Regions from separate parts of the Homo sapiens genome. Here region 1 is linked to region 2. The links are contacts of gene promoters, found by promoter capture Hi-C in blood cells and fetal thymus (Javierre and others, 2016). All regions are on one chromosome and are shown on one strand. Each heading gives the region's core, a stretch centred on a gene start or on the middle of the fragment in contact. The rest is flanking DNA. Distances are from core to core; before and after follow the strand shown. Region 1 overlaps SIK3 (SIK family kinase 3). Region 2 holds the start of APOA5 (apolipoprotein A5).

What was found. The method cuts DNA at HindIII sites, captures the fragments that hold promoters and counts their contacts. A CHiCAGO score of 5 or more calls a contact.
Region 1: a fragment that was not itself captured here is called in contact with the fragment with the promoter of APOA5 in region 2 in 8 of 17 cell types (naive CD8 T cells, naive CD4 T cells, activated CD4 T cells and 5 more); the score reaches 7.7 in naive CD8 T cells.

The regions. Positions count from the first base shown.
Region 1 is chr11:116,902,893-116,908,469 of GRCh38, reverse strand. The region is part of intron 4 of SIK3 (SIK family kinase 3); the gene reads left to right. Among named protein-coding and RNA genes, the nearest start is that of APOA1, 68 kb to the right of the region's middle. The HindIII fragment of the contact is 1,197 bases long and covers 3,259-4,455 here.
Region 2 is chr11:116,789,471-116,794,739 of GRCh38, reverse strand. It overlaps APOA5 (apolipoprotein A5), which reads left to right and starts at 2,861. Exons shown (of 3, transcript NM_001371904.1): 1 at 2,861-2,928; 2 at 3,043-3,154; 3 at 3,673-5,269. The coding sequence starts at 2,880. The coding sequence ends at 4,612. The HindIII fragment of the contact is 6,000 bases long and covers 1,927-5,269 here.

The DNA.
Region 1 (5,577 bases), core at 2,608-5,107, 110 kb before region 2:
TCTCACTCCATCACCCAGGCTGCAGTGCAGTGGCGTGATCACAGCCCACAGCAGTCTCGGCTTCCTAGGCTCAGGCAATCCTCTTGCCTCAGCCTCTCGAGTAGCTGGGACCACAGGCATACACCACCATGCCTGGCTAATTTATATTTAGTTTTTGTGAAGACGAGGTCTCCCTGTATTTGCCCAGGCTGGTCTTAAACTACTGAGCTCAAGCAATCCTCCTGTCTTGGCCTCCCAGAATGCTGGGATTACAGGAGTAAGCCACCACGTCCAGCCGAGTCCTTTATTTTATAAGTTACAAATATCCTCCCTCACTTTGTGGTTTCTCACTTTCTGTTTAACGTGTGTATAAATTTTGGCATAATTCTAATGTAACGAAGTTTACCACTTTTCCCTTTATGATTAGCACTTTTTGTTTCTTGTTTGAGAAATTCTTCCATCCCCTGAGGCCGTAAAGATACCTGCTTTTTTTTTTTTTTTTTAAATAAAAACGTGATAGTTTTACCTTTCACATTAGGGCTATAATCCACCTGGAATTAATTTGGGGATAGAGTGTGAGGATGGCAGCCTCTGTAATTTTTTTCCATATGAATAACGAGTTGTTCCTGTGCCACTTTTTGAGAAATTTATCCTTTTCCCATTGATATACAGTGTCTACCATTCTTTTCTATGCATGTTTTTAAAAGAAACTTGACGCAGTATTCCTGAAGCATTATGTGTCTTTGGGAATTAACATAAGCAGAGCAAAGGGTGGCAGTCAATAATAAAATGAAAAACAGTAAACTGTAATAACTAAGGAATTTGCAAGTTTTTTGTTTTTTTGAGACAGTGTTTTGCTCTTGTCACCCAGGCTAGAGTGCAGGGTGCAATTTCGACTCTGGTGCAACCCTCCGCCTCCTGGGTTCAAGCAATTCTCCTGCCTCAGCCTCCCGAGTAGCTGGGATTTCAGGCACCTGCCACCACACCTGGCTAATTTTTTATTTTTAGTAGAGACGGGGTTTTGCCGTGTTGGCCAGGCTGGTCTTAAACTCCTGACCTCAAGTGATCCGCCAGCCTTGGCCTCCCAAAGTTCTGGGATTACAGGTGTGAGCCACTGTGCCTGGCAAATTTTTAAATTTCAATAAAAATAATTATGGGATGTACGTGAACTTAAATATAAACACATACATGATGCTGAAAGCACAATGTGGGGCTGGATTTTGAGGGCACTGAGAACTGGCGTTATAGGCTGCATCTGATTCATACTAATTTTTCTTTAACCTTTATACTTGGGAATGTTACTTTTGAACCTCACGTCTCAGGCATAAAACAAAAATAATGCTCATCTCAATGAGGTAATAAATACAAGGTGCTGTAGCGCAGCACTCAACAGAAGGTCCTTTGAAAAACAACTGTTTAATACTGCAAAGTGCAGCACAAATAGGAAAACTGTTGCACTGGAGAGATGAGTCAAGGACAGTCCAGTTCCAAGTCTTTCTGGGATACATGGCTCCCTCCAGGGCTCTTGCCACTCACCTGCATGGCCACGACGTTCGTTTCTAAGTACTCTGAATATATTTGTATATAACTTAGGATTAGTATCTGTTGGTTGTCATCAATCTTGGTAAGAAATGCCTAATTTTATTCACAGCTTGACATTGTAGATAACTCTGAATGGATCTGGATTATATTTGTAGTCCATTTCTGTGATGTAGCCTGTCTTTACAACAAATAAACAAAAATTCTGAGGGGAAAATGATACCATTTCTCATCGAGAATAATTATGTCATCATTTGTTTTCCCTCAGATCAAAGTTACATAACACTTGGATGAGATTACATGGATGCTGTAAGCCACCTTTTTCTGCTTTTCTGCTCTCTCGGCTTCCTTGTTACATTTTCCTGACTTTCTTCCTTTAGCCGCGCTTTCTCTCTCCTTTTTGCTGCATCCTCTTTCTGTTCTCGCACCTAGGGAATAGGAAGTACCTCTGGGTGTTTTCGAAGCCTTAATTCTCATCCTTCCCTTTTCTCTACTTTTTCTTTCAAAAATATTTTATCCTTTTACTACTATAATTCAGTTTCTCAGAATATCTTCACTTAAATTTCTGATCACCTTCTCAAACTCAGGACATAAAGAAAAAGTAATTTTTTTTCTTCCCAAACCAACTTCTGCTTTCCTTAAGTCTGTCATCTGCTCAGGGCCATATTCTCTACTTCTCCTTCTTTTTCATCCCATATATTCTGTTTGTTATCAAGTACTGTCCGCTCCTTTCAGAACATCTTTTGAATTGTTTTTTTCATTTTCAATATCTCATCTGATCACAGCCTTCAATATTCACCTCACACCTAACCTAATCTTGCTTTCTAGTTTATTTTACCACTTCACCTGCCTGCTCAGAAGTCCTAGCAACTCCTTATTGCCTGTAAGTGTGGCTCTCAAACCTCTTCAGAAAGAACTGTGTTTTACTGGTACCTTTATATTCACACCAAAAGCATAAGTGACAAAAGGAAATACAGATAAGTTGGACCTCATCAACATTTAAAACTTTTGTGCATCAAAGGACATCATCAAGATAATGAAAGTCCACAGAATGGGAGAAAATATTTGCAAATCATATATCTAATAAGAGATTTGTATCCAGAATGTATAAAGAACACTCACAACTCAATAATAAAAAGATAACCAATTTTAAACTGCACAAAAGATTTGAATAGACATTTCTCCAAAGCAGATATACAAATGGCTGAAAAGCACATGAAAAGATGCTCAATATTATTAGCCATCAGGGAAATATAAATGAAAACCACTGTAAGATATCATTTCACATCCACTGGGACAGCTGAATTGACAATAATAAGTAATAATAATAAAGACAATAAGTGTTGGCAAAGATGTGGAGAAATTGGAATCCTTGTACGTTGCTGGTAGGGATGTATAATGGTACGGCCACTTTGGATAGCAGTTTGGATACTTCCTAAAAAGTTAAGCAGAGTTACCATATGACCCAGCAGTTCCACTCCCAGGTATATATCCAAGAGAAATGAAACCATATGGCCACACAGAAACTCACATAAATGTTCATAGCAGCATTATTTTTAGTCGCTGCAAAGTGGAAACAACCTGAATGTTCAACAGATGATGAATGGATAAATAAAATGTGGAATGTCCATACCATGGATGTTATTCAGCAGTAAAATAGACTCAAGTGCTGACATAGGCAACAACATGGATGAACCTCCAAAATATTATGCTCAGTGAAAGAAGCCAGACACTAAAGCTTATATATTGTATGATTCCATTTATGTGAAATGTCCAAAATTGACAAGTCTCATAGAGACAGAAAGTAGAAAGCCTAGGGCTGGGCCATTGGTGAAAGACTTGAAGGGTGTTGGGGAGTAACTCCTAATTAGCACAGGGTTTCTTTTTGGGGTGATGAAAATGTTCTAAAATTTCTTCTTTGGTTTTTTCACTGCCTTTTCCTTACAAGGTGAAAAATGTTCTAAAACTGATTGTGGTCATCGTCGCACAACTCTGTGAATGCGCTAAAAGCCGCTGGGCATTACACTTTCAATGCGTGAATTGTATGGGATATGGAATACAAGAAATATGTTATGGCCAGGTGCAGCGGCTCATGCCTGTAATCCCAGCGCTTCGGAAGGCCGAGGTGGGAGGATCATGTGAGCTCAGGAGTTCGAGACCAGCCTGGGCAACACAGCAAGACCCTGTCTCTATTTTATTCTATGTTTTAAAATTTAAAAATTAAAAAGAAAAAAGAATAACATTTTATAAGAAAATATTTTATGAGAGACTTATAAAAGAGACATTAAGAATATGAAGTAATATATTTCGTATTCCTTATCTCAATAATGCTGTAGGGAAAAAACAATTGAAATAAAAGCAGTAAATGAGTGGAGCATGGAGAGTGTGTCATGAGCCAAAGGTTATAATAAATTCATAATCAAGTTTTTTTGTATCTGAAGTCTAATAAAATTTTTAAATGTGGAGGAAAAAAAAAGGAAAGAAAAAATAGTAATGGTTCACAGGATGAAGTCCAAGGTCTTCATTCTGTCATTTGAAGCTGTATTTTATCTGGCATGATGCTGCTGTGCACTCTTTATTTCTTGCCATATGCCCCTACAAACCCTTTATTGTACCCAGGGCAGTGTCTTGCTTGTCACTTGAACTTAGCGAGTTAATTCTAAGTGTTCTGCCCTTGCTCGTGCTCCCTCCTGACTGCCATTCAGAGCACCCTTTCCACCTTCCTTCATTGCCTCTCCAGATCCTGGCCATTCAACCAAGTTCTGCTTCCTTTGAGCCTTTCCCTAGAACTATGTTTTATGCCTTTGGTTTGTTAGAAGATCTAACACATTGCTATTCCCATTGGAAGAGTTCCATAAATACATGTTACATAAAGAGTGAAGGAAATGGAGGAACTTACTTAGAGACTTATAAAAGAGACATTAAGAATAGGAAGCTTTAGTAAATAATGAAAGATATTGTGAATTAGAGTAGCTCCAGAGCCAAAATAAGATGAAAAAGCCTATTAAATAGAAATGGTTTTCTAGGTTCAAGTTCAGATCAAACTTAAGCTCTAAAGCTTTTCTTGGCTTGGTGCAGTGGCTGTTGCTTGTAATCCCAGCACTTACGAAGGCCTAGTCAGGAGGATCGCTTGAGCCTAGGAGTTTGAGACCAGCCTGGACAACATAGCAAGACCCCCATCACTACAAAAAAATTTTTTTTAAATAGCTAGGCATGGTGGTGTTTGCCTGAAGTCCCAGCTACTTAGGAGGCTGAGGCAGGAAGATGGCTTGAGCCCAGGAGGTAAAGGCTTCAGTGAACTATGATTGTGCCACTGCACTCCCATCTGGGAAACAGAGCAAGACTCCATCTCCAAAAAAAAAGTTTTTCTTTACCTTTTTCTTTGGCATTTCTGACTTAAGCCAGTGAGAATTCTTCCTCATTCTTTTTTACTCATTGCTTGAATTTGTGTTATGAGAATTTTTTTCCTCCAACTTGGATGATCTTTCAATTTTTTCCAGTTGTCTATACATGTAGATAACTGAAAACAGCAAAGCTCTTAGTGATTCTGTTCCATGTCTATCTGTTCCCCACCTCCATTTCCTACCACACACCCCAGCATTCCCCTAGTACATCACTAAACTATCAACAGAACCTAAAATAGACTAGTTTGTTTTAACTGTATTTTTCTTTCCAGTCCTCTTAAAATGTGCAGCAAAATGTCCCCAAAGGCAAGCAGCTAAGAGAATGAAGAGGAGGTATTCTCCCATCACAGTTACTCAGTCCCAGAAGTATTGATTGGAAGGCACTGAATTTTCAAAATGACTTCCAGATTTAGTACATGGTAATAATTTGAGGCTTTCCCACACGGATAATTTAAATGTTCAGAAAATAAGTTATGTTATAGCTGAATGGGCAGCAAATTAGACAGAATTTTAACTTACAAGATGCATAGCAATAGTGAAGATTAATGTGAAATACTAGTAAAGAGCCACTGGTAGGGAAGAGAAGACAGCGATATGCTTTCAATGAAACCGTCAATTTATAATAATATGTATATTGAAAAGGGAGAGTGGATCA
Region 2 (5,269 bases), core at 1,612-4,111:
GGTGAAAGAAAATATCATCCCCCTAGTTGCTCAGAAACCTGGGAATCATTGGGATTTTTTCCTCTCCTTCACCTTCCTCATCCAATCAGTCACCAAGTGCTATCAACTCTGCTGCCTTAGTAGCCCTCAATATATACTTACCTATCAACCATCACTGCTATGCCATACTTCAGGCCTTCATTTCTCACTTGGATTATTAAAATATCCCTAAATAGTTCCTCTGCCTTCTCTCTGGCCACCCTCCTGAGTGATCTCTCCATCATGTACCTTTCAGTGACTGCTTGCACAAGCCCCTTTGTGACTTGGTCATAGTCTGCTCTCTTGAACCACCAGAGCCAAGCACCTGGGTTCTGATTCTGGTTGCAACTCTTACTGCGTGATGATGGACAGGCCACTTGATCTCCTCAAACCTCAGTTCCTAAATCAAATGAATGATTGAATTCAGTCACTTAACTTTGTATGTAGTAGGTAGGCACTGTGCAAAACATACTAGTGGATATAGAGATGAATAAGAAAAAGCCCCTGCACTCAAAGAGCTCTCGGATTCATCAACAAATTATTGTGCAGTTAGATAGTAAGTGCTATAATCCAGGAATATACAGTGTTGTGTGAATAATGTGGAATCAGTTTATCTCCAGAGCAGAAAAAGGTGAAGGCCGAAGAAGGCATTCAGAGTGATACTGGAGCTGTGTAGCAGGGGCTACTACTGTTCCCTCAAATCCTTTCTTCTCTTCTTCCTGAGTAATAGAGTCCTTTTTCAGCTAGGCATACAGCCATCCAAAATAAAAACTATATTTCCCAGCCTCCTTTTCAGCTAAGTGTAGCCATGTGACTAAGTTGTGGCCAATGGGATGTCAGTACAAGTGGTAATGGCAATATCTGGGATGTGTCTTTAAAAGGAAGGAACATGTCCTTCTCCTTTTCCTCCTTCCTGTTCCCTGGGAGGTGAACTTGGTAGCTGGAGGTGAAGCAGCTGGAACTTGGATATGAGCGTCTTGTTGATGATAATAGTGCAACAAGATAAAAGCAGCCCGAGCTGGCCTACATTTACATGAGAAGGAAATAAGACTCCATTTTGTTTAAGCTATTCTCTTGCATATATATATACACATATATATCAGCTAAGTGTAGCCATGTGACTAACTTGTGGCCAATGGGATGTCAGTATGAGTGGTAAGAGCAGTATCTTGTATATATATATGTGTATATATACACACACACATATATATACATATATGTATGCAAGAATATAAAATATACATGTGTGTGTGTATATATATACACACATATATATGTCCCTTGCAGCCAAGTCTAATTCTAACTAATACAAACTAACTCTAAAAAATGAATATATATTCACCAGGGGATAGGCTATTTCAAGCAGAGGGAAGCCTGTATAAAGGCTCAGGGAATGCCGTGGTTTTATGTGGCAGCAGATGAGACTGGAAATGAGTCAGGATGAGCCACAGTGGAGGATGAATTAAATGGGCAGGAGTGTGGTAGAAAGACCTGTTGGAGGCTATGAATGCAATCAAGGTGACAGACAACTGGTGCAATGATGGTAGTGGAAATGGAGGAGAGGGGATTGATTCAAGATGCATTTAGGACCAAGAATCGGGAGCTTGTGAACGTGTGTATGAGTACTGTAGACGGAGTGGGTGTGTCATCAGAGAAGATCTGAGCATTTGGGCTTGCTCTCCTCAGAGGCCCTGCGAGTGGAGTTCAGCTTTTCCTCATGGGGCAAATCTCACTTTCGCTCCAGTTCCTGGGGCTCAGAGTCCCTGGCCCAGATGCCTCTTGCCATCTCATCTTCACCCTGCCTGGCTTCCCTTGCTTGTTCCAGGATTGTTTCATAAAGAGGGATGTGGTTGGTCTTTAACCCTATGAATGCTGGCTGAGGATGCCTGCGGAACCTGTAGTGAAGCTTTCAGGGGCTGCTCGGGTTCTGGCTGGTAGGTGAACACTGTCCATCTTGCCGGCTGGGACACAGTGACTCTGGGTAGTTGTGTAAGAGAGGGGCCCTTGGCAGACAAACAGGTTCTTCTCTGTTGGTGGGCCAGCCAGCAGGTCAGTGGGAAGGTTAAAGGTCATGGGGTTTGGGAGAAACTGGGTGAGGAGTTCAGCCCCATCCCCCGTAAAGCTCCTGGGAAGCACTTCTCTACTGGGGCAGCCCCTGATACCAGGGCACTCATTAACCCTCTGGGTGCCAGGGAAAGGGCAGGAGGTGAGTGCTGGGAGGCAGCTGAGGTCAACTTCTTTTGAACTTCCACGTGGTATTTACTCAGAGCAATTGGTGCCAGAGGCTCAGGGCCCTGGAGTATAAAGCAGAATGTCTGCTCTCTGTGCCCAGACGTGAGCAGGTGAGCAGCTGGGGCAGAGGGATGGGGGTCACAGTCCTAAGGGAGGGCATTGCAGGTGGCCTCAGGGGAGAGCCTGGGGTGGCCCCTAAGACGTCCTCTTGGAACATTTTGGCAGAGTTGCCTCTTCGCCCTCATTATGGCTCAGTTTTTCCACCATGAAATGGGAGGGAGGGAGACAGGTGGGCAGGGGAGAGGTGGTAGAAGTGGCCTAGAGAACTGTTCCTGGGGTCTGGGACCTTTGCGAAGGGGTTAGAGCACCACGCTCCCTGCTATGTGACTGAGGTAGCAAGAGCACGCCCTCTTCCCATGTCTGAGGAAGACACCCTAGCCTCCTTGACTCACCTAGGTCAGTCCTCTTGAGCCCCAACAGCTCTGTGCTCCCCAGCCCAAGGAAGGGGTAACAGGATTTCGGGCAGTTGCCCCTGCAGAGGCCCCCTGGGCAAGTCCCCTGCGCCATGTCCCTTCGTCTCCTTCTTCCCCTAACCAGGCCTCCCTCCACCTGTCTTCTCAGAGCAGGTAATGGCAAGCATGGCTGCCGTGCTCACCTGGGCTCTGGCTCTTCTTTCAGGTGGGTCTCCGACCCTGACTTCAACGTGGGGGTGTGGGTGGAGGCTGGCCAGAGGGCCCTGTCCACCCTGGGGGAGGAGAGCCCAGGCCCTGATTACCTAGTCCCTCTCCACAGCGTTTTCGGCCACCCAGGCACGGAAAGGCTTCTGGGACTACTTCAGCCAGACCAGCGGGGACAAAGGCAGGGTGGAGCAGATCCATCAGCAGAAGATGGCTCGCGAGCCCGCGTGAGTGCCCAGGGGAAGGGGTGTAGGCGAAGGGAGGAGACAGCTGGGCCATGCCATGATGACCTGCCTCTGCTGCCTCAACCTCTGTGGCCGCTGCTGGGACAGAGGAAAGGAGCGGTGCTAGCTCTGTCTGCAGATCCCGGCCATCCTGGGCTCTTTAGCGCCCTCTGCCTGCAGCCCCCGCCTTGACAACTCCGTAGCTGTTGCCCCCTTGCTCACTGAGGCGCGGGACCTGGGATCAATCGGGAGGACGCCCGCTGCAGTCCCCAGAATCAAAGGATGATGTGGCGCATCTATGTTTCTTTGGAGAGTGTTGTAGGTCTGGATTTGTATGGGCAATGTGTTTGTGCTTCGTGCGTGAGTTGTTACTGGCCAGGGCTAGGACAAGAGCCCTCGACCCTGGGGCCAACGCCCTGCGTCCTTGGTTCCCCCAGAGGATCAGTGCGCGATGACTTGGGGACAAAGGAGATGATGGAGGCTAGCAGTCTGACGGCCTGGATATCTGTCCCCTTCTCCAGGACCCTGAAAGACAGCCTTGAGCAAGACCTCAACAATATGAACAAGTTCCTGGAAAAGCTGAGGCCTCTGAGTGGGAGCGAGGCTCCTCGGCTCCCACAGGACCCGGTGGGCATGCGGCGGCAGCTGCAGGAGGAGTTGGAGGAGGTGAAGGCTCGCCTCCAGCCCTACATGGCAGAGGCGCACGAGCTGGTGGGCTGGAATTTGGAGGGCTTGCGGCAGCAACTGAAGCCCTACACGATGGATCTGATGGAGCAGGTGGCCCTGCGCGTGCAGGAGCTGCAGGAGCAGTTGCGCGTGGTGGGGGAAGACACCAAGGCCCAGTTGCTGGGGGGCGTGGACGAGGCTTGGGCTTTGCTGCAGGGACTGCAGAGCCGCGTGGTGCACCACACCGGCCGCTTCAAAGAGCTCTTCCACCCATACGCCGAGAGCCTGGTGAGCGGCATCGGGCGCCACGTGCAGGAGCTGCACCGCAGTGTGGCTCCGCACGCCCCCGCCAGCCCCGCGCGCCTCAGTCGCTGCGTGCAGGTGCTCTCCCGGAAGCTCACGCTCAAGGCCAAGGCCCTGCACGCACGCATCCAGCAGAACCTGGACCAGCTGCGCGAAGAGCTCAGCAGAGCCTTTGCAGGCACTGGGACTGAGGAAGGGGCCGGCCCGGACCCCCAGATGCTCTCCGAGGAGGTGCGCCAGCGACTTCAGGCTTTCCGCCAGGACACCTACCTGCAGATAGCTGCCTTCACTCGCGCCATCGACCAGGAGACTGAGGAGGTCCAGCAGCAGCTGGCGCCACCTCCACCAGGCCACAGTGCCTTCGCCCCAGAGTTTCAACAAACAGACAGTGGCAAGGTTCTGAGCAAGCTGCAGGCCCGTCTGGATGACCTGTGGGAAGACATCACTCACAGCCTTCATGACCAGGGCCACAGCCATCTGGGGGACCCCTGAGGATCTACCTGCCCAGGCCCATTCCCAGCTCCTTGTCTGGGGAGCCTTGGCTCTGAGCCTCTAGCATGGTTCAGTCCTTGAAAGTGGCCTGTTGGGTGGAGGGTGGAAGGTCCTGTGCAGGACAGGGAGGCCACCAAAGGGGCTGCTGTCTCCTGCACATCCAGCCTCCTGCGACTCCCCAATCTGGATGCATTACATTCACCAGGCTTTGCAAACCCAGCCTCCCAGTGCTCATTTGGGAATGCTCATGAGTTACTCCATTCAAGGGTGAGGGAGTAGGGAGGGAGAGGCACCATGCATGTGGGTGATTATCTGCAAGCCTGTTTGCCGTGATGCTGGAAGCCTGTGCCACTACATCCTGGAGTTTGGCTCTAGTCACTTCTGGCTGCCTGGTGGCCACTGCTACAGCTGGTCCACAGAGAGGAGCACTTGTCTCCCCAGGGCTGCCATGGCAGCTATCAGGGGAATAGAAGGGAGAAAGAGAATATCATGGGGAGAACATGTGATGGTGTGTGAATATCCCTGCTGGCTCTGATGCTGGTGGGTACGAAAGGTGTGGGCTGTGATAGGAGAGGGCAGAGCCCATGTTTCCTGACATAGCTCTACACCTAAATAAGGGACTGAACCCTCCCAACTGTGGGAGCTCCTTAAACCCTC